7 separate regions of the Homo sapiens genome follow, and regions 1, 3, 4, 5, 6 and 7 are each linked to region 2. The links are contacts of gene promoters, found by promoter capture Hi-C in blood cells and fetal thymus (Javierre and others, 2016). All regions are on one chromosome and are shown on one strand. Each heading gives the region's core, a stretch centred on a gene start or on the middle of the fragment in contact. The rest is flanking DNA. Distances are from core to core; before and after follow the strand shown.

Evidence for each region. Contacts are between HindIII fragments. The CHiCAGO score rates a contact against its expected background, and 5 or more counts as called.
Region 1: a fragment that was not itself captured here is called in contact with the fragment with the promoter of ABCD3 in region 2 in 1 of 17 cell types (endothelial precursors); the score reaches 5.1 in endothelial precursors.
Region 3: a contact is called between a fragment that was not itself captured here and the fragment with the promoter of ABCD3 in region 2, in 1 of 17 cell types (M1 macrophages). The highest score is 6.2, in M1 macrophages.
Region 4: a contact is called between a fragment that was not itself captured here and the fragment with the promoter of ABCD3 in region 2, in 6 of 17 cell types (M2 macrophages, fetal thymus, endothelial precursors and 3 more). The highest score is 10.1, in M2 macrophages.
Region 5: a fragment that was not itself captured here is called in contact with the fragment with the promoter of ABCD3 in region 2 in 3 of 17 cell types (fetal thymus, M0 macrophages and M1 macrophages); the score reaches 7.8 in fetal thymus.
Region 6: a fragment that was not itself captured here is called in contact with the fragment with the promoter of ABCD3 in region 2 in 4 of 17 cell types (neutrophils, monocytes, naive B cells and 1 more); the score reaches 6.8 in neutrophils.
Region 7: a contact is called between a fragment that was not itself captured here and the fragment with the promoter of ABCD3 in region 2, in 1 of 17 cell types (monocytes). The highest score is 5.4, in monocytes.

The regions. Positions count from the first base shown.
Region 1 is chr1:93,993,323-93,996,022 of GRCh38, forward strand. The region is part of intron 49 of ABCA4 (ATP binding cassette subfamily A member 4); the gene reads right to left. Among named protein-coding and RNA genes, the nearest start is that of GCLM, 85 kb to the left of the region's middle. The HindIII fragment of the contact is 2,044 bases long and covers 425-2,468 here.
Region 2 is chr1:94,417,015-94,419,865 of GRCh38, forward strand. It overlaps ABCD3 (ATP binding cassette subfamily D member 3), which reads left to right and starts at 1,375. Exons shown (of 23, transcript NM_002858.4): 1 at 1,375-1,574. The coding sequence starts at 1,465. RefSeq lists enhancers at 564-1,355, 1,827-1,966 and a silencer at 1,117-1,496. The HindIII fragment of the contact is 10,166 bases long and covers 1-2,851 here.
Region 3 is chr1:94,010,858-94,013,557 of GRCh38, forward strand. ABCA4 (ATP binding cassette subfamily A member 4) reads right to left here. Exons shown (of 50, transcript NM_000350.3): 39 at 405-528; 40 at 1-72. Among named protein-coding and RNA genes, the nearest start is that of GCLM, 100 kb to the left of the region's middle. RefSeq lists an enhancer at 454-953. The HindIII fragment of the contact is 3,950 bases long and covers 1-2,700 here.
Region 4 is chr1:94,026,939-94,029,638 of GRCh38, forward strand. ABCA4 (ATP binding cassette subfamily A member 4) reads right to left here. Exons shown (of 50, transcript NM_000350.3): 30 at 2,507-2,693. Among named protein-coding and RNA genes, the nearest start is that of ABCA4, 93 kb to the right of the region's middle. The HindIII fragment of the contact is 1,763 bases long and covers 538-2,300 here.
Region 5 is chr1:94,054,378-94,057,077 of GRCh38, forward strand. ABCA4 (ATP binding cassette subfamily A member 4) reads right to left here. Exons shown (of 50, transcript NM_000350.3): 15 at 2,224-2,445; 16 at 734-938. Among named protein-coding and RNA genes, the nearest start is that of ABCA4, 65 kb to the right of the region's middle. The HindIII fragment of the contact is 6,519 bases long and covers 1-2,700 here.
Region 6 is chr1:94,778,798-94,781,497 of GRCh38, forward strand. All of the region lies in intron 1 of SLC44A3-AS1 (SLC44A3 antisense RNA 1), which reads right to left. Among named protein-coding and RNA genes, the nearest start is that of MIR378G, 34 kb to the left of the region's middle. The HindIII fragment of the contact is 3,150 bases long and covers 1-2,700 here.
Region 7 is chr1:94,807,425-94,810,124 of GRCh38, forward strand. All of the region lies in intron 1 of SLC44A3-AS1 (SLC44A3 antisense RNA 1), which reads right to left. Among named protein-coding and RNA genes, the nearest start is that of SLC44A3-AS1, 11 kb to the right of the region's middle. The HindIII fragment of the contact is 2,796 bases long and covers 47-2,700 here.

The DNA.
Region 1 (2,700 bases), core at 197-2,696, 420 kb before region 2:
AGTTGTCAATCAATTTCTGAAGGGCACTCAGCTGAGGGCACTGTGATTCTGTCAGATCACCCAGGTTATGGGCCATCTTTCTCTCCTTCTCTATGAAATCTATGAATCAGGTCTCCCTGGTACTAAGATCCAGGCATTTGTTACAAAGACACACATACGAGATGTGTGCATACATGCTTACATCCTGGGGGGAAGCTACACCCATGGTGCTGTTTCCAAGGGCTCTTACAGGGTCTTTTGGGGCTTTTTTAGCTTAAGAAAGTTACCATTATCTTAAAAGCCAAGAAATCCTAATTTAGGTCAGCCCTGAGGTATAGAATTCCCTTGACCACTTCCTGTAGGGGTGGCTCTGGGAAGCATGAAAGTGTGACTGGGGGAGGGGAGAGATGAGAGCTGGAGTGCAGGATATTAGGCTCCAGATCAAAGCTTGGGCTTTGATTAATAAAGATGTCCATGTTCCTTGAGAAGCGGACACCAAGGTGACCTTTTTAACTGGAGAGATACTGTCTCCAGTTATAAAGTGTGGGTTGAATTCCTGAACCAATGCCCGCTGTGGAGCTGGGGTAGTGTGGGCGAGGAGGGGACTGGACAAAGGCCTGACCAGTCTAGACGAAATGTGGTTTATCCCATTATCTGATTTAAAATCACACATCCTCTTAAGAGGATGACTAACACAGTTCTTAGGGCTGAGAACAGGATTTGAGGTGGTGCGAGGATCCCCATCAAGGCTGAGGGTACTTCAGAAACTTCTGAAACTAACACAAAGATACGAGTTATATGGGGGAACTGGAACAGTGTAAGAATAAGGATTAGAAATTGATCTGAGTTGTTCCTAATTTGGGAATGCACATGCGATGGTCACATAATTATTAACCTATTTAGGATGTTTCTAAGTTGTCTGATCATCTGTCACTACTTAATCTATTAACACCTTGACCCTCACTGGTTTTAATAACAGAGTATAAGATTGCATAAGACCTTATCCCAAAACATGTTTTCCAGGATGGAGTCCTTTGGAGAGTAAAAATGTTCTTGGTAAGCAAACGCTGATTTCTAGAGAAATATCTGTGTGGTCCTGGCTCACAATTTGGAGTTGTAAAGCCAATGGCCAGATGAACCTCCTGAAGTTCTCACATTTGCTTAGGAGCAAGTTGTAAATTCTCTCTAAAACTTCTTGAGAGAAATTGCCTTTTTCTTGTTTGAAGAATACTTTAAAGGAAATTATTTTGAAGTGGTATAATGTAAACAATAATATACTTACTATTATTTCATGACAGACATATACAATGCTATATGAAAGAATTTTTGCAAACCTTTGTAAAGATAGTATGTTGTAAAGTCAGAATTAGGTTTTGGATGAAAATTATCAGAAAAATATGCCAATAAGTGTGTTGCAGGTTTTCTAATCTTTGTGAACAAAAATGTAAAAAACACAATAGAAAAATGATCTCATCCAATAAGGGAGAAAAGTTTGGAATTAACTGCTGTAGATCACAGAACATCAGCACCCCTGATGTTCTGCCTGGCCCAGAGGTGATGTGGTGGGATTAGTCCTTTAAGAGGGAACATGCCAGGCAGGGGTGGGGAGACCATTGGTAATTCTGGGAAACAATTTTGCTACCCAATTCTATATTCTGAGTTACAGAGTTATAAAAAGGATTTGCAACTGCAAGTGGTTTTTAAAAATAATTTTCAACTGATGTCAACAGCAATCACCAGATCTATAAATGGGAATCAGTGGCTGGAAGATCTCAGTAAAAGCAAACTTTCTGTAACTAAAGGAGCCTTAGGCATTTCTGGGCCCTCTGGCAGGTAAGGGGTGGGAAGACAAAGTCAGTTTTGCCAAGTAGCCATTAGGTCTCTGCTGGTCAAGAGGAAGGGAAAAAATTCATCACAAGCACTGCTTTAGACAGCAGTGTTTCAATCATTAGCTGTATTTGGTTTTTCTTGCAATCCAGAAACTGGGCAGAATAAAAACTTTATGGGGAAATAAGGTTTTTGCATATCCTTGCTTCTTGATTTGATTTGATTTACTCTCCAGGTAAGTCAGAAGAGAGTGGCTAATTCATCCCTCTACAATCCCAGGCTTAAGCCAAGGCATTGGGATGCTGGTGCCTCCTCCAGTACTTGCTCTAGCTCTCTCCTTCTTGGGTGGTGTGCTCCTTACATGGGGCACTGTGCCAGGGCAGGAACCTACAAGCACCTATTCCAAGAGTTATCACAAGCCAGGAGACATACCTCCTATTGCTTCTTTCTCCATCTTCTTGTAATTTTTATAAAGAACAAAGAGCCCTCTTCCTACAACAGATGCTATTCCTTGATCTAACCAAATGTGTCTGACACTGAAATGATGTGCCAGTTAAGTCCCTTCCCTTGAAACTCAAACACATGTCCAGACATAGATGTCAAGCACCCAAAACATTCTAATATTCTCTATTACCTTCTCTGCTCCTTATTCCCCAAATCCAAGCTTTTTTGCTGTAAGCAAAAACATGGGAAAGTTCTTTTCAAAAATGCTCTCCCATGCTATCCAGATGGTTTCCTGATTACAATAGGAACCCCTACAACTACTGAATGAAAAGTTCTTCAGCACAGAACACACAGTGGCAGGGACTTAGCAAGGATGTGATGAGGATGTGGTGGGGACTTGGTAGGGACCGTGGTGTGGGTGGGGCTCTCTGTAGGAGGCATATCTGAGCC
Region 2 (2,851 bases), core at 125-2,624:
GTCTCCATTCTGAACGCTCCCATGTATACACATTAAATTTGTATGCCTTTTCTCCTATTAATTTTTTCTTCTATTAATCTGCCTTATGTCAGCGGTTTTCAGTTAACTTTCAGAGGGCCAAAACCTTTTGTCCCTCCAGGTAATGAAAATGTCCACATGACAAATAGTGAATTAGTAGGAGCTTCAGTTCTGCATAATTTAGAATTCACTGTTGAGCACCTCTATACGCATGCCATTATTGTACCTCGTCTTTGTGATCCTCATAACCTGTATTAGGCAACAGCTCATTTATATTGAGAAAACACCTAGGGCACAGCACCACTACTTTGTAGGCTACTTTAATATGTATGTGCATTATGCGAGGTTTTATGAGCTTATTTTCTGACACACTTGCTTTTCTCCAGTTTCCTCAGCTGAAAACAGCGATTCACTGTTACTGTATATATGCTAGGCTCAATGCTGGCGATAACAATTCCTGCAACATAGGGTCAGACAGGAGAAGAATGTTGTAATCTGCAAAGCCCTTCTGATTCTGGGAGTGAGGCCAGCATTAATACAACGCACGATTGTTACTTCTGAATGTCCCTTTGCAAAGAACAGTGTTTCTCAAACTTTTTTCTGACCAGATCTGCATACATTTTACATCGCCGCTGGCGATACATACGTGCAAAACACTGAAATCGAAATTTCTCTAAACAACTCCTTTACTACGTGATGTACTGTGAAACTTTTCTATTTTGTTCTATTCTCAATTTTATTAAAAACGGAGGGTGATGATCCCGATCTACCAAACCAATTTCACAATGCGCTAGAGATTATAACCCGCGGTTTGGAAAATACTGGCTTGGAAAAAGCTCTTTGATCTGTGTCATTCTCCTCACATCTCCCTACACCTCTGCGGAGTTCCGATTGTTTGGTTTCGTCCTGATAATCACTGTGCTGTGTTTTCCCTACACGCTCTGTGACGGGGCCGTCCGCCTCCTTCCTGGGCTCCTTTAAGAGGGTGGTAACGGTACATCACCGCGGGAGTGGAGAGGCAGGGCCCACTAGGTCGTCGCTGCAGGCCAGGCCCGCTCATCCAGTTATTGTGAAAGCCGGGGTGTGCGCGCGAAGAGTGGGAGGGTAGGGGTGAGGCAGGGGCAGCACTGACGCCTCGCAGGGCTGAGTAGCAACAGCTCCTCCGCGCCGCGTTTCCGGAGACCCTGAAGGAGTCCGCGCGTGCGCAGAGCGCGTCCCGGGAACTGTTCCGCCCACGGAGGCTGCCGAGCGCGCTCCCGCCGGGCCAAAGTACAAAGTGGGCTCCAGAGCGCGGGCGGCGCGGCGGCGCGAGCCAGGGGGCGGTCCTGCGCGGCCGGCCCCGCCCTCTGCTCTCCTCCCAGTCTCCCCCGCGCTGCGTGCAGTAAGGTAGCCGCCGCCGCCGCCGCCGCCGCGTCCCCTCGCCGGCTCGCTGGTACCGGCAGTGCCATGGCGGCCTTCAGCAAGTACTTGACGGCGCGAAACTCCTCGCTGGCTGGTGCCGCGTTCCTGCTGCTCTGCCTGCTCCACAAGCGGCGCCGCGCCCTCGGCCTGCACGGGTAAGAAGGCCCGTAGCCGTGCAGCTTTCCCGGGCTGGAGCGGGCGCTCCCCGCGCGCTCTCTCTCCCCACCCGGCCGACAGGTCTCTTTGCCCGACGGGGTCGGGCGGAGAGAGGGCCGACCGCGACTGCCGTGGGACTTCAATGTCAGGGTGTCCGCGAGTCCCCGCCACGACGGCGTCGGTCCCAGCTGGCCTGTCCGGCGACCTCGCTCCACCCCGGGAGTGCGAATTCTTCTGTGCCCGCGGGCGAACCGGCGCCCAGCCAGCACTCAGGCAGCGGCCTCCAGTTGGGGGTGGGAGGGGGATGCGGTGTGTCCCCCACCCCCTTCCCTACATCACCCCCTTCTGTGTCAACTTTCTGGGTGTGTTCTGGTTTTGCCATCTCATCTTCAGACCGTGAAGGATTTGTTTTGGGGACGTGGATGTGTGATTGAGGATGGGGATTGGATTCGCCAGGCTGGAGGCTGGTGTCTAAGTCACTTGGACGAGGTTTGGCTCGATTCCCGACTAACTGCTATTGAAAGTCGCGAGGGTGGCTTCTATGAAACTATTCCCGGTCCACTTGGCAGGATTGCCGTCTAAAGTGGTGAGCCCTTGGAGTCGGTGAACCCTTTGGTCGGTGAACATTTGGTCGGTGGCATTTCATCCGGAAAGGCTGGATCGGTTCTGTCGGACTTAGAGGGAAATGTTTTCCTTCCTGGGCTCTGTAGGTGAAAGATGAGAGTGTGGTTTAGGTGAGGATCAAGCTCCTTTTTAATGACACGCCACTGCTTCCACCGCGGGAGAATTTCAGTGCTTAGATTTAACTTTGGGAGGTTATCAGTTCAGAAAAAGTAAAAAAGAGAGAGCTGAATTACGGTTGCGACATACAGGTATGTATGTCACATACATGCAATTTTTATTTGCTGGACAAGTGAAAGAGAAAAGGCTACTTCCCAAGCGTTCTTGCCAGTCATTGAATATTTCGTATTAAATCTTGACATACTACTTTCATGAATTTTATTTCATTCATTCCTCTGAGCAGGTACTGTTGCCTCCCGTGTTTGATTTGCCTACAATATCTAATTAGTAGTAAAATTTGGGCTAAAACACAAATAGACTTCTAGTTTATAGTACCCTTTCCATTAAGTTCTTTCTAGCCGCCTTCTGTTTTTATCTTACTAGAGTCTGAAGTGATGATCTTTCTTTTCCTTCCTAAATCCATTTAACAGAGTTGAAAATGATTTGCAGCATAGTCTGGGCAATAACAGCGCTTACTCATTTTTCTTCTATTCAG
Region 3 (2,700 bases), core at 1-2,500, 410 kb before region 2:
CTTCCACCACCATGGCAAACAGGTTCTTCCCAATCAGGTCCCAGTGGAACGGATTTGCAGAGTGCTCCTCACCTGGGCATCAACAGGAATTGAGTCCACTTCAGCCGCCCCAGCTCACCCCACAGACCTGGCCACAGCACAGGGCCCACTAGACCAGGCCTTATGTGGGAACTGAGCAAGAGCCAAACACCCGCCTCATAAGGGCTGCCCTCCATCCCTCCTGTGGCTCCCCAGCCATGGAAACAGAGGCACCCTAATCCTCTCCAGCTGGCAGGACACCTCCAGCCCAACAAGGTCCCCTCCTAGCACCAGCCCCTGCCACAGTCTGATGCAGGAGCCCCCCCGGTAACCCTCCCAGCTTTGGACCCAGGGCCCATGCTCCATGGGCCTCGGCTACCACCCACCAAACCGGGCATAGACATCTGTCACAGCCTGGCTCAGTGCAAGGTCAATGAGGCCCCGGCCCAGGCAGAAGTGGGGGAAGACAATGAGCAGCTTCCTCAGCACGGCGTTGAACCTGAGCAGCGTCTGAAACAGAGAAGTAGGACTGTTGGAAACGGGGCAAACCCCACCCCCCCTCTCTTCAGCAGGTGGGGCCCAGATGCTCTCACAGGACAGCACAGGGCAAGGCCTGCAGACAGAGAGTCCTTGCAGCCAGACTGGCCACTGGAGGGATTTGTCCAGCAGAGCATCATGGGTTTGCAATGGAGGTCATGAAGTACTTACAAGCAGTGCCTCAAGGCCAGGCCAAGGAGCTAATCAATTAAATGACCAATCAAGGACTGGGGCTCCCTGCAAGTTTCTAGTGGGCGGGAGCTTCCCCTTTGTCTAGCCAGGCAGCATCTTCTAAACATTTACTATGCTCAGTACCATGTGGGCACCGAGGCTAACTGTGAGGAACCTGCATTACTGTCCTTACCCCTCCCCTAGGTGACTCTGGGGGTGACAGCAGGAATGTGCAGAGAAGCTGCAGCCCTCCTGCTGTCCACTTAGGGAGCTCTCCCTGCAGACTCACTTTGAAACAACAGGAGCCCTCAAGGCATTTGTTAACACCAGGCCCTGAGCCATCTCCAGCTCTGCTTTTCAGCCCCTCACAGGGCAACTACCATTGTCTAGGGAGAGGAGGGTTGGAGACTCTCTCTGGGGTCTGTGTTAAGCCAGGGACTTGTTTTCAAGTGGTCGGACTTGGCATGTTGGGCAGAGCCTCCCCTGAGAAAATAGAAGGGACATCGAGGCGTACGAGGCCAGCATAGCTCCTGGCTGGGCCACTGCTGTCCATTCCATCTGGCTCCTCCCAGTCCCACAACCTCCTCCCTCTCCAGCCTCCACACCTGCGCCCACATTACCTCATCCTTCCCTGCCTACCCTTTCTCCCCACTCTTTCTGGAATCACTGTGCTCTTTGGCCTCTAGGCCTGGGCATGTGCAGGCTGTTACCTATTGCTCCAAGCAGGAAAGAATGCTCTTTTCCCTTCTGCTTTCTTAAAGATTCCTGTTCTTCTTTAGACAGCTGGCTCAGAGAGTGCCTTCCCTTACAAGCCTTCCAAGATTCCCATGAGAAAGTATCCATTCCTCTCTCCCAGCACTTATCACATTCCCATGATTAATTTTTTAAAAATCTGCCTACTTTCTCTACTAGTCAGTGGGCCCCTGGAGGGTGGGCACTGAGTCCTAATTATTTTTTTGTCCTTCCTAAATACCTGCACAATGATTAGCTCAGAGTAGGCACTTCATTATTTATTAAATGGGCTAATAGAAATCTACAGGCTGAAATTGAACTTCCTCCACCACGGCTCCCCCAGCCCCTGCAGCCTGGCTCTTCCCGCTGCCTCTGGCCTGCAGCATGTTATCTGCCTCGCTCCTCTGCTGCTCTGTCACACGCTGTATTATGGAGGATCATACACTGTGGCTTATATCGTTGCAAACTTCGTGGGCAGGTCCTTTTCCGACTGGAACGGGAGCCTCTGGAGGGCAGGACGAGTGGGCCACGCTTGTTTATATCAGCACACACCCGGCACGTGGTGTTCAGCTGGTAAAGACCTCCTGATCTCACACGGGCCGGCAGCTGCTGGGAGCTGGGGAGCTTCCTGTGGGATACTGGGGGTTTCCATAGCAGCTGTGTATCGGATAATTTACATGAAAATACCAGGTTTTTGAAGGCGGGTGCTTAGCAAATGTTGGCTAAATGGGTGCAGCCTCAGAGGGGAAAATGTTCTGAGTTGCTTTAAGCTGGCTATTTAATTATTCTGAAGGAAAACTGTCTTAAGACTTAGTGGGCTGTGAGCCTGTGGCAAACACAGCTCTGCAAAGCAGCACTTTCAGTCACCTGGGTGCTCTGGCCATCTGCTGGGGCTGTGTTCTTATCCCCCCGCCTTTCCAGAGTCTGACTCTGACATGCTGAATTTCTTATCATTCATGGGACAGATGAGGCTTCGTTACTTGCCTAGCAGCCACGAAACCCTAACAAGATCTGGAAAGAGTCAGTCTCAGGGGTCCACGGGTCTGGGCGGTTCATGGTGGGGCCTCCGCACAGATTTGTCCTGTGTTCCCCAGTGGGGCCCAGAGGCAGGTGGAGGTGGGTGTGGCAGGGCAGCAGTGCAGATGTGCTGGCCGGTCCCACCCTCTGAACTGGGAAGAGCTAATGAGGAGAGGAAAGGTTGAGGCGCCTGGGGACACAGGCACGTGGTGAGGCAAATGTTCC
Region 4 (2,700 bases), core at 169-2,668, 390 kb before region 2:
AAAGAGAGAGAGAGAGAAAGATAGAGAGAGAATGAGAAAGAGATTGAGAGAAAGAGTGAGAAAGAGTGAGAGAGTGAGAGATAAAGAGTAAGAGATAGATAGAGACAGAGAGATTGAGAGAGAAAGAGAGAGAGAGAAAAAGAGTGAGTGAGAGAGACAGAGCGCGCACAGCTCCTGTGCATATGCGTGGCATTCAGTTTTGCTCCAATGGAAGGCACGTATAATAGTGAGGAAATGCAGAAGTGAAAGAAAATGGCAGGAACTGGCTTGCCTTTTTCTAGGACTTTGGCTGTTACATTTTGTCCAGGGACCAAGGACCAACACTACTGAAAATAAGTTTCTAAGCTGGACAGACCGCGTGGAAGTAAGGGTTCGTTTAGGAAATGAAACACCATGTAGGTAGGCTTGGCCTCCCCTCCCTCGCCCTGGCCAAGAGCTCAGGGTACAGTATCACAGCCTTGACGTCCTGATGCTGGAGGGTTTTGAGTGGAGGCAGCCACAGGAGCCCTCAGCATTGACAGCAAAGCAAACAAGCAAAGCTTCCTCTTGGGGCACAGAGGACTGAGACAAGTTCCTTGGGTCCTTCTTTTGGGATCCCTATGATGCAGCAGATGAGCTGTGATTCAAAGAGAGAAAATATTGCTTGAGAAATATAAAGATACATGCTTTAGAATATAAAAAAGAGCAGGGATCGGGTGTTCTTGGCCTAGAACCATTTATAAACCAGACTGTGATAGGTGCTGTGGCAAAATCTAGTTGCTCCCATTATTTGCTCCTCCCTGCTGCCTTAGCCATAGCCTTTTTTGTTGGGTTTGTAAGTGGAAGTACTATGTGGGAACTTCAGAAAACCTTCCCTAAACATAGCACATGTGCACACTCTGCCCTCTGTTTTGCTTCATCCTTCTTCCATTCCGCTGCCTGGAAGGCAGCTCCTGCCTTATTGGCTGATGAGGCTGAGGCCTGTTTAGTGTGGAGGAGAAAGAGAATAGAACATCGTGCACCACCCACGTAGACTTTTAGATGAGTGAGAAACAAGTTGTGTCTTGTTTTATCTGCTGTTAGTTTGGGGTTGTCATCACTTGAGTTGAATCTAATTCTAAATAATTCCTTGCCCACATGATTTCATTAAATCCTCATAATAATATTATGAAATAAGCAGTTATTCCCAATTCACAGGTGATAAAATTAAGGCTCAGAGAGGTCAAGTAGTCCACCTGGGGCTCTCCGTGTCCCATACCTGTGCTTTCCCACTGAACTGCATAGCCTGTTTGGGAACAGTTTATTCATTGACAAATCATTGGACAGGGCTGTCTAAGGCCCAGCCCTGGCAAGTCAGCTGGGAGGCCCATTATCAACCACGGACACAGCCTTCTTTGATGTCTCTAAATCCCCCAGGAGATGCTCACTGTAATCTGTTCTGGACTTTAGAACTCCCAGGACAGGGTGCTGCTCAGAGCCAAGATCATTAATGTCCCTGCAAAAGATGGATGCTGGCTGTGCATGTATTTGTGTACATACCTGCAGATGTTAGAGACACAGCACATGGAGAGCTTCTTAATTAAGACTGTTAATAAGTGTGTAAACACATTTCCATTTGAATGTACATCATAGCATTGCTTATAATGGTGAAAACTAAAAAACCTAAGTGGCGAATAATGGGAGATCAGTTAATTTAAAGTAACTTTAGGCCAGGAGCAGTGGCTGACGCTTGTAATCCTAGCACTCTGGTAGGCAGAAGTGGGTAGATCACTTGAGGCCAGGAGTTCAACACCAGCCTGGCCAACATGGTAAAACCCCATCTGTACTAAAACTACCAAAAAAATTAGGCGGGCATGATGGTGCATGCCTGTAATCCCCACTACTCGGGGGGGCTGAGGCACAAGAATTGAACCTGGGAGGCAGAGGTTGCAGTGAGCCGAGATCACACCGCTGCACTCCAACCTGGGTGACAGAGAGAGACTCTGTCTCAAAAAAAAAAAAAAAAAAAAAAAAGAAATTCAAACAATGGGATAATATACAGATATTAAAAGTGATGCAGATGTCTATTTATTGACATGGATGCATGTTCCTAGTAAATTATGCAGTAAATCAGATTTTAAGACAATATTTGGAATATAATCTGTTTGGGTGGCTGCAAACCAAACATTATCTGTGTTTATATCCAAGCGATGATTTTTTTTCCTTCTGACTTACCTGTGTTTTCTAATTTTTCTATAATGAGCACATATGACTTAATTTTTTTTAGTGCTTAAACACATTTTTTCTACTAGATCAAATAGGAAGTATCTGGTGGAAAATGAAGCTTTTGGTGAGTGGCTTCCTCCAGTTGGCAGCCACAGCGCCCTGTGGGGAGCCCCTCCCAGAGGGTGCAGGGAGTTTGGTTTAGTCCCCTACTCAACTGCCAGTTTGAAATGTTAGTTTGTGAGAGACTCAGGAGATACCAGGGACTCCCCTAGTCCCTCTGTGGCAGGCAGACCTGGGGCCCCGTTGTTTGGAGGTCAGGTACCTGGGGGGGCGGGAGGCCCCCGGCACCCTCGGGGCACTCTGGCAGCATGGTGAGCTTCTCCCTGGTGCTGCACCTGCAGGATGGTGAAGGGTTGACCTGTGTCCATTTCTGCTTCTGGAACAGCTGGGTGATGTTTGGGGACACAGAAGGAGTCTTCCAGGGTGTTGAGTTGCCACAGGGGTACTCCCTCATGG
Region 5 (2,700 bases), core at 186-2,685, 360 kb before region 2:
GTAAGGGGACAGGAACCCTGGAGGAATGTTGTTTACAGAGCCATAGTTATGTAGATCTCTTCAGTCTGGAAAGATCCCTGTGATAATGGGACATTTGAACAGAGACCTTAACAAAGTAAGGAAGCAAGCCTGCAGATATGAGGGGCGGGTTGCAGGTTGTGGGGAGAGAAATGTGCTTCTGGCATGAGAACAGCAGGTGGAAAGGCCCTGAAGAGGAAATGCGCTCGGTGTATTAAACAGTCAGTAAGGAGGCCGACGTGGCTGGAGCAGAGGAACATGGAGGAGTAGGGAAAATCGTAAGATGAAGAAGAGAGTTGGAGGCCGGATAATGAAGCAGCTTGGAGGCCAGGGTTGAGACACTGGGTTTTACTCTGAAAGAGAGGAAAAGCCAGTGCAAGCATTTGACAGAGAGGGCTGACACCACATGACCTTGATTCTGAAAGGATCTCCCTGAATACAGTGTGCAGAATGGACTGATGGGAGGTGGTAGTGGAAGGAAGAGACTGGCATTGGGAAGGTTGTGGTGGAGGTGGTGACAAGAGATCAGATTCTGGATTTGTTTCTCAAGTAGAGCCAGTAGGATTTGCTGGTGGATTTTTAACTTCTAGATTTAAACTTCAAATGCTGGTTCTGACAAAGAGCTTGGAAGAAATGAAATTTAAACTAGATGAATGGAGAGGGCTGGGGATCTGAAGAACTCAATTACCTTTACCCTATAGAGGAGGATGCTTACCTGGAAACACCTGATCAAGGTACCAAGCGAGTAAGCCATAGACAGCAGCATCAAGGAGCATCATCTGCATGGACAGCAGGAAGCTGAATTCGTCCCCTTCCGTGGGACTGTTCCCGATGTTGCTCCACTGCAGCCCCAGGCCTTGCTCTTCAAAGCGAACCAGGTACTCAGTGCCAAATCCAAATGCCACCGGAGACAGTAAGCTCTGCAGTGAGGCGGAGAGGGCACAGAAAAAGAGCAGTGCCTTTTATCCAATGCAACAGCACCCAGATGCCCTCGAGGTAGAGGGGAGGGCCAAAAGAGGGTCCCCATTGTCTCTCAGTGTAAGGTCAGCTCAGGAGGGTGAAGGCAGTCTTTCCCTTGACGGCCAGGGGGAGTTCAGAGTGTCTCTCTGCAAACAAGAGAGTCTCTAGCTATACAGTCACAAAAAACATGAAACAATTCTCAGCCCAGCCCTAATCCACAGTTGCTAGACCTATAGCTTCCTAGTGATCTATGTACCCAAGAAGATGGCCTCAAATTCCATCTGCCTACTCAAGGATTACCAAAATAGCCCAACTCTGCCCACAGATGAGTCATAAGGATTTCTTGCCACTTATCCATTGTGATCATTTTAGAAAATTGGGTACTACAAATGGCAGCAATTGATTTCTTATTTAACCTAAGAAATGAAAGGCAGATGCCCTGACACCTCTGGAGCCTAATAAGTGTGAGTCGTGAGAACAAGTCAGACTTTCTGTCTTTTCCCAGTGAGGGCAGGTGGTTGTCCCTTCTTGACTCTACAGCACAGAGACAGGGAGACTCCGGAGGACAAGGGGAACTGCACCCTCCAGGGCCAGAGGCTGATTAGAGGGTGGAAATGGCCCATTTGAAAACAATTAGAGAAAAGACAGTGCTCTTTGTCTGGGTCTGGGAATTGTGAACTAGGAAGTTTCTCAGGCCATCAGAAGTCAGCTTCGGGAGTCCTCTCCTGGCCAGCGAGCCTGACTCTGTGGACAGTCTCATTTCTGCACTTCTTTCTGCAAACATTGGTAGAGCATGTTAAAGATACTTGTGGAAATACTCCAATTCAAGTTTTTTTGAAGCAAAACAAAAACCTTTAATTAATGGAAACATCTCTTTAGACAGATAGTAAAGTGGCAAGCTCCCTCCCTTCTGATTCTTCTCAAAGAGTAGGAAAGGAAAACTAGTGAAATGGGCTGCTGGCTCTCTCTTGTGAGTAAATAAAGGGACCCATGAGTTGAACTGGTTTTTTAATGACTTTCCAGGGCAGATGAATCAAGCAGGCGTGGTGAGGAGTCACTGTTGCATCGCTCGGGGTGAGGACTGCTCCCACTTTTGCCCCTGTACATTTTAGCCTCACGTGAACTTTTTAACCTTAGGTCAAAGGCAAAGTGGACCCCCTCAGAGGGCAGGCTGGGCCTCCAGGACTGCTACGGACCCTTCCAAGGAAACGTGTTGTAGGACAGGGGCCAGCCCAAGGGCCTCACCACAGCCTTCTTCAGCTCAGCGGTCATGCGGTCCTGCCAGGCGAAGCACAGGATGTGTGGCAGGTAGAGGGTGAAATAGATGACACCACTACAGGCTGCTGCCAGACTGGCCTTGGAGAAGAAGGTGCTGAGCAGAAAGCACAGCATGATGGTGGCAGTGGAGAAAGCCAACAAGAACAGGAAGAGGATGAATGGGTCGCTGTAATGTAGGATTCTTCCATGCTGAAACCAAGAGGCCATGCGTCAGTAACTCCTGCCCTTGGCCGGACGCCTTCTCATTCTGCCCTAAAGGGCTCTCTCCCACCAGCCTGCAGTTAGTGTCTAAATTTCTACGCACACTCCATGTGCTGAGTTCCTTTAATCCTAGGAATGCCATTTTCCCTGGGAGGAGTAGCACATTAGACTCCTAACAGTCATCAGTAATGTTAAAAAAATTAATTGGGAGACCATTAGGTTGAAACGGCCCCAGCATTCTGT
Region 6 (2,700 bases), core at 72-2,571, 360 kb after region 2:
TTTACTCTGGAGTCCTTCTGTGAACTGTTTGGTTATGACTAATAAGTTAGGAACAATTAGCTAAAATTCATTCAATCATAGGAATTTACATTTGGAGGGGTCATTAATGGTCATTTAAGTCCAGCATTTCTCCCAAGCAAGAATCCCTTCTACAGTCTTGGTCAGTAGTCTTTGGTGTCTGTTTGAATACCTCAGATGCTAAGAATCTCACTGACTCCCATGGAAGCTGAGTTTGTTTGTTTTTTTAAATGCTTATCTTCATGCCCATCAAAGATGAAAGTTTTATTTTGTTTGCATGTACACTTCTAATCCCCAGCACAGAACTCAGCACATCAAAAATCTTCAGTAAATGTTAATTGCCTGAATAAGTGGAGGTTTGAATCCATTCATTCATTTAGTGTATTATTGAATGTCTACTATGTGGTGGGTATTTATCTGAAGCACTGGGGGTACAGCAGTGGACAAGAAAGACATGGTTCCTGGCCCATGAGGTGTTTTCACTCTAGCTGGAAAGACTAATCTACCCATATTTCCCTTTCCTACTTAAATCTTAGACATATCATCAGTAGGCAGATGGAAGCAGCCACTATTAGGACAGGTTGAGGAATAAGTAGCAATTTCTTACACATTCTTAGAGATTACTTGAGAACCTCCAGGGAAGACTACACTTCCTGTCAGGCTGGGCTGGTGGATGTTCAAGTCAGTATTGTTTGAATATTAAAGAAATGTAACCTTATTTTATCCCTATAGCTGATGCAGCAGGACATTCAATACAAAGAGAGAGAAGATGAAGCTGTATTAACACATACATATATGTTCTACTTATTGATACATTTATATATATGTATACACACACACATTTATTCTTATTCAAACACATACACACTCACATAAAAATGGAAAGATATTCACCTAATTTTTTAAATGATTATCTCCAAGTAGTGGGATTATAGATTTATTCTTTTAGTTTTTCTATATTTGACACATTTTCTTCAGCAAACAAATATTACTTAAATAAGCAAAACAATTGTATTAAACACACACACACACACACACACACACACCCACACACAGCAAGTCCGGCTAACTGGTCACGCTGCTGATGCCTCCATGCTTTGTTCCTGCAAATGCCTTCTCCCTCCTCTCTCCCTTTCAACATCTTCCTCGCCCTGTAAATAATCTCAGCTCAAGCATCATCTCCACTAGAAAGCTCTCCTGATGCCCACCTTCCCCAGGGACCCTATACCCCACTTTCTTTGTGCACTTGCTGAACTAGGTAGAGACATTTATGATGGTGCCTTACAGCTATGCATGGCCTGCTCGCCTGATTGCCAGTGCCTGCAGGCCTGGCTCTGTGCCGCTCATCTGCACAGTGCCTCACCCTCAGTAGGGAATTGGGAGATAAGGGATGAATCCCTGAGCCTCTCCTAGGTCACTGATATGGCTGCTCATTGGTCATTCTCCTCTGTAGCTGAGATCACATTGCCCTCCTTACAAACTACTGATGGCTCCTTACTGCCTACTGAAAAAAATGCAACATCTTAGGGCATCCAAGAGCCTCCACAATATGATACCAGCTTGTACCCCATCCCAGGAGTACTCATCCAGCCCTAAACAGGTCATGCCTCCCCACCTTTGCCACTGCTATTCTTTTAAACTAAAATGATTTTCCCCATCTCTACCTAAGGAGTGTCTAAAAATAATTTCTACTCATCCTTACACTAGCTCGAAAGCCACTGATGCTCTGATGTGCTCATCAAAATCTCTGTTGGGAGTATCTGCAATCTCATATGCCCTGGGGTTCCTGTCTGTCCCTACAGCCACGTAAAGTAAGCACCATGAAGGCAGGGGTCATGCCTTAATCTTAATTTAGGAGGCACTCACTGAGGAGCTGTTGATTTAAAATGATTTGGAAAAGAAAAAGTCCACGTTCTCTTCCAAATGAAGGGCTATACAAGTTACTGTGAATGGTTTTAATACAGAAAATGAGAGAAAAGAGATCCAAAAAAATAAAGTGAAATGGGATAGGTTACCAAACAAAGAATGAAACCATATAAGTAGAATTTGCTTTAAGATAAACATTTAGGTATTGAATATCTGAGATTTCTGTTTCCTTGTTTTATGAGCACAGGATTGTAGGAGAGTCAGCGAGCAACCCCAACACCCTTAAGTTCTTAGGTGGTATTTTTGGCTAGAACTAGAAACCAAATGGACACCAGGCAGATTAACAAGATAAAAGCATACTAATTGTATTGGTTTTAAGGAACGTAGGTGTCATGCCAGATCCCTATTGACTCCAATAGGAATGGCACCATGTCTGAGAGGCCAAACAAGAGACCCAGAGCCAGCAAACGAGACACGGGGTTTTATTAGGGAGAAATTACATACAGGAATAGTCCAGTGGTGGAAGACTGAACAGGAAACTGTAACTGCTTGAAAAAAGCATGTAGTTTAGATAGCACCTTCACTTAGCACGCTCCCCCCGACAACCTCCATGTGGCAACCCTCATTTCTTAAGTCATTGCTGGCAGGTGCATCTGCCGTATAGGGTCATTCTCAGGGTGTGAATAAGTCAGTGCTGTCAGATGCAACTACTGTGCCCGTGGGATCTTCACAAGAGAGTGAAATCCAAAGAAATGCCCAAAGCAAGATGTCTTTATACTTTTTAGACAAAGAACAATGAATTTGAGAAGAAATGAC
Region 7 (2,700 bases), core at 195-2,694, 390 kb after region 2:
AATGCAAACAAATTTTAGAAAACAAAATTCAACCTGCCTCTTTAGAAGCTTATACTTGTACCTATTAAAAATGGTGATATTCAGCTGGGCATGGTGGCTCACACCTGTAATCCCAGCCCTTTGGAAGGCTGAGGCGGGCAGATCACGAGGTCAGGAGATTGAGACCATCCTGGCCAACATGGTGAAACCCCAGTCTTTACTAAAATACAAAAAATTAGCCGGGTGTGGTGGTGCATGCAGGTAGTCCCAGCTACTCGGGAGGCTGAGGCAGGGAATTGCTTGAACCCAGGAGGTGGAGATTGCAGTGAGTCAAGATTGTGCCAATGCACTCCAACCTGGGGACAGAGCGAGGCTCCGTCTCAAAAAAAAAAAATGTTGACATTTATTTCAGATATTTGGCAAAAAACAAAAATAGATGGTATCTTGGCAGTCAAAATGTAAACATAGGCCAGGTGTGGTGGCTCACGCCTGTAATCCCAGCACCTTGGGAGGCCGAGGTGGGTAGATCACGAGGTCAGGAGTTCAAGATCAGCCTGGCCAATGTGGTGATACTGCGTCTCTCCTAAAAATACAAAATTAGCTGGACGTGGTAGCAGGCACCTGTAATCCCGGCTACTCAGGAGGCTGAGGCAGGAGAATCACTTGAACCTGGGCGGTGGAGGTTGCCACTGCACTACAGCCTGGGCGACAGAGTGAGACTCCATCTCAAAAAAAGAAAAAAAATGAAAATGTAGTTTTACATTTCCAGTTAAACAAATGAACATTGCAGGTCATAAAATTCACTGAATGTTGCAGTAAGCTGGCTCTGGGAAAGATAAACAGAGGCTGCGGTTTGACCTGTGGGCCCCTGCCCTGCCTTTCATGACACTGCTCTCAGCCTTCAGAAGCCCTGGTGGCCTTGTGGTGTAGCTCTCTTCCTCTAAAAACCTGAGATAAGAAACGTATCTGGCATTAGTCATTTACATCTTATTATGGATTTATTACTCAAATGCCCTCTCCCAGGGCCATTTGTATTTTAATTTTTTCTCCAATGTGTGTTAAAAAGTTGTCCTCTCTAAGACAGCATTTTAGGTACATTAATCAGGTAGGGTAGGCACGAGAGAGGAGGGCTTTTCAAGTGCCTTGACAATCATTCCACCCACTTACCTAAGACCCTGCATATTTCAAAACAAATTAAGTTGTCCATGTCGTCAAAAAATGTAGTCTTTAACAGCACTACCCAGAACTGCTGCGTTTTTTTTTTTTTTTGGCCAGTGTTAATACTTGTTACACACACCACACACACACACACACGGGTACTTTGGTCAAATCTCTAGTATACTGATGAACACTGCAATAAATGGGATACAGAACAATATTTCTAAACCATATCTAACCACAGGATATTTTTTTCAATAGCGCCTCCAGGTCTACCGTTCCTCAGAACATGCAAGAGAGACCAGGTCATAATCTCCCTTCTGTTCAGTCTCCAGCACCATAAAAGAATAATTTGAAATGCCTTCCTGCTAGAACTCTCATTACTCATTAAAAGACACAGAAAGAAGAAAATGGTCTCTCAAGACTGGTACTCAGAGTGTCTCAGAGTGCCAGCAAGTGCTTCAGCAAGAGGCATCCCAGACACAGGTAGAAATGCTTGGTGAAGGTAAGTAGGAAATTTCTTGAGGTTGTTCATAGGAAGGCTCTGCCCTGCACAAATGCAGAAATGTAGGAGACAATAGATGTGATTAACATAAAAACACCACTAATATCCAACTAAATGGAAATGGTGAGACAAAAGAAAGCCAACAAATTAGACCAACCAGTCCCCAGCAGTTCATACATCTTATCTTCAGTAGAATTCAAGGACTTAGCAGTCTGACTGTTCTATCCTTCTATACTATGGTCAGAGAGTCTATGGTTAGATTGTTTGGTTTAGTCTATAAAGAACCAACCTCAATTTTATTTTATTTTTATTTTTTTAAACTTAAAAAAAGAGAGAGCAAGAGACAGGGTCTTGCTATGCTCCCCAGGCTGGTCTTGCATTCCTGGCCTCAAGCAATCCTCCCTCTCAGCCTCCCACAAGGCTGGTATTACAGGCATTAGCCACTGCACCTGGCCTTTTTTAACTTTTATTTTAGATTTAGAGGGTACATGTGCAGGTTTGTCACCTGGGCATATTGCATGATGCTGAGGTTTGAGGTACAAATGATCCCATTACTCAGGTAATAAGCATAATAACCAGTAGTTAGTTTTCTAATCCTTGCTCTCCTCGTTCACTCCCCCAATAGTCCCTAGTTTCTATTGTTGCCATCTTTATGTCCATAAATTCCAAATGTTTAGCCAACCTCAACTTTAAAATCACACATTAAAAAAAAGTGTAGAGTTAAAAAGTTCCAGATGACTCCCTACCATACACCATCATTTTTTGTAATATCCCCTAAAAAGCAAACTAAATTATGTTATTTAAGGAGTGAAATAATCTAAAATAATAAGTATGTTTAAGTAGGCTGGGCGCGGTGGCTCATGCCTGTAATCCCAGCACTTTGGGAGGCCGAGGCGGGCAGATCACCTGAGGTCAGGAGTTTGAAACCAGTCTAGCCTACACAGCAAAACCCCGTCTCTACTAAGAATACAAAAATTAGCCGGGCGTGGTGGTGCGTGCCTGTAATCCCAGCTACTCAGGAGGCTGAAGCACAAGAATCACTTGAACCCAGGAGGCAG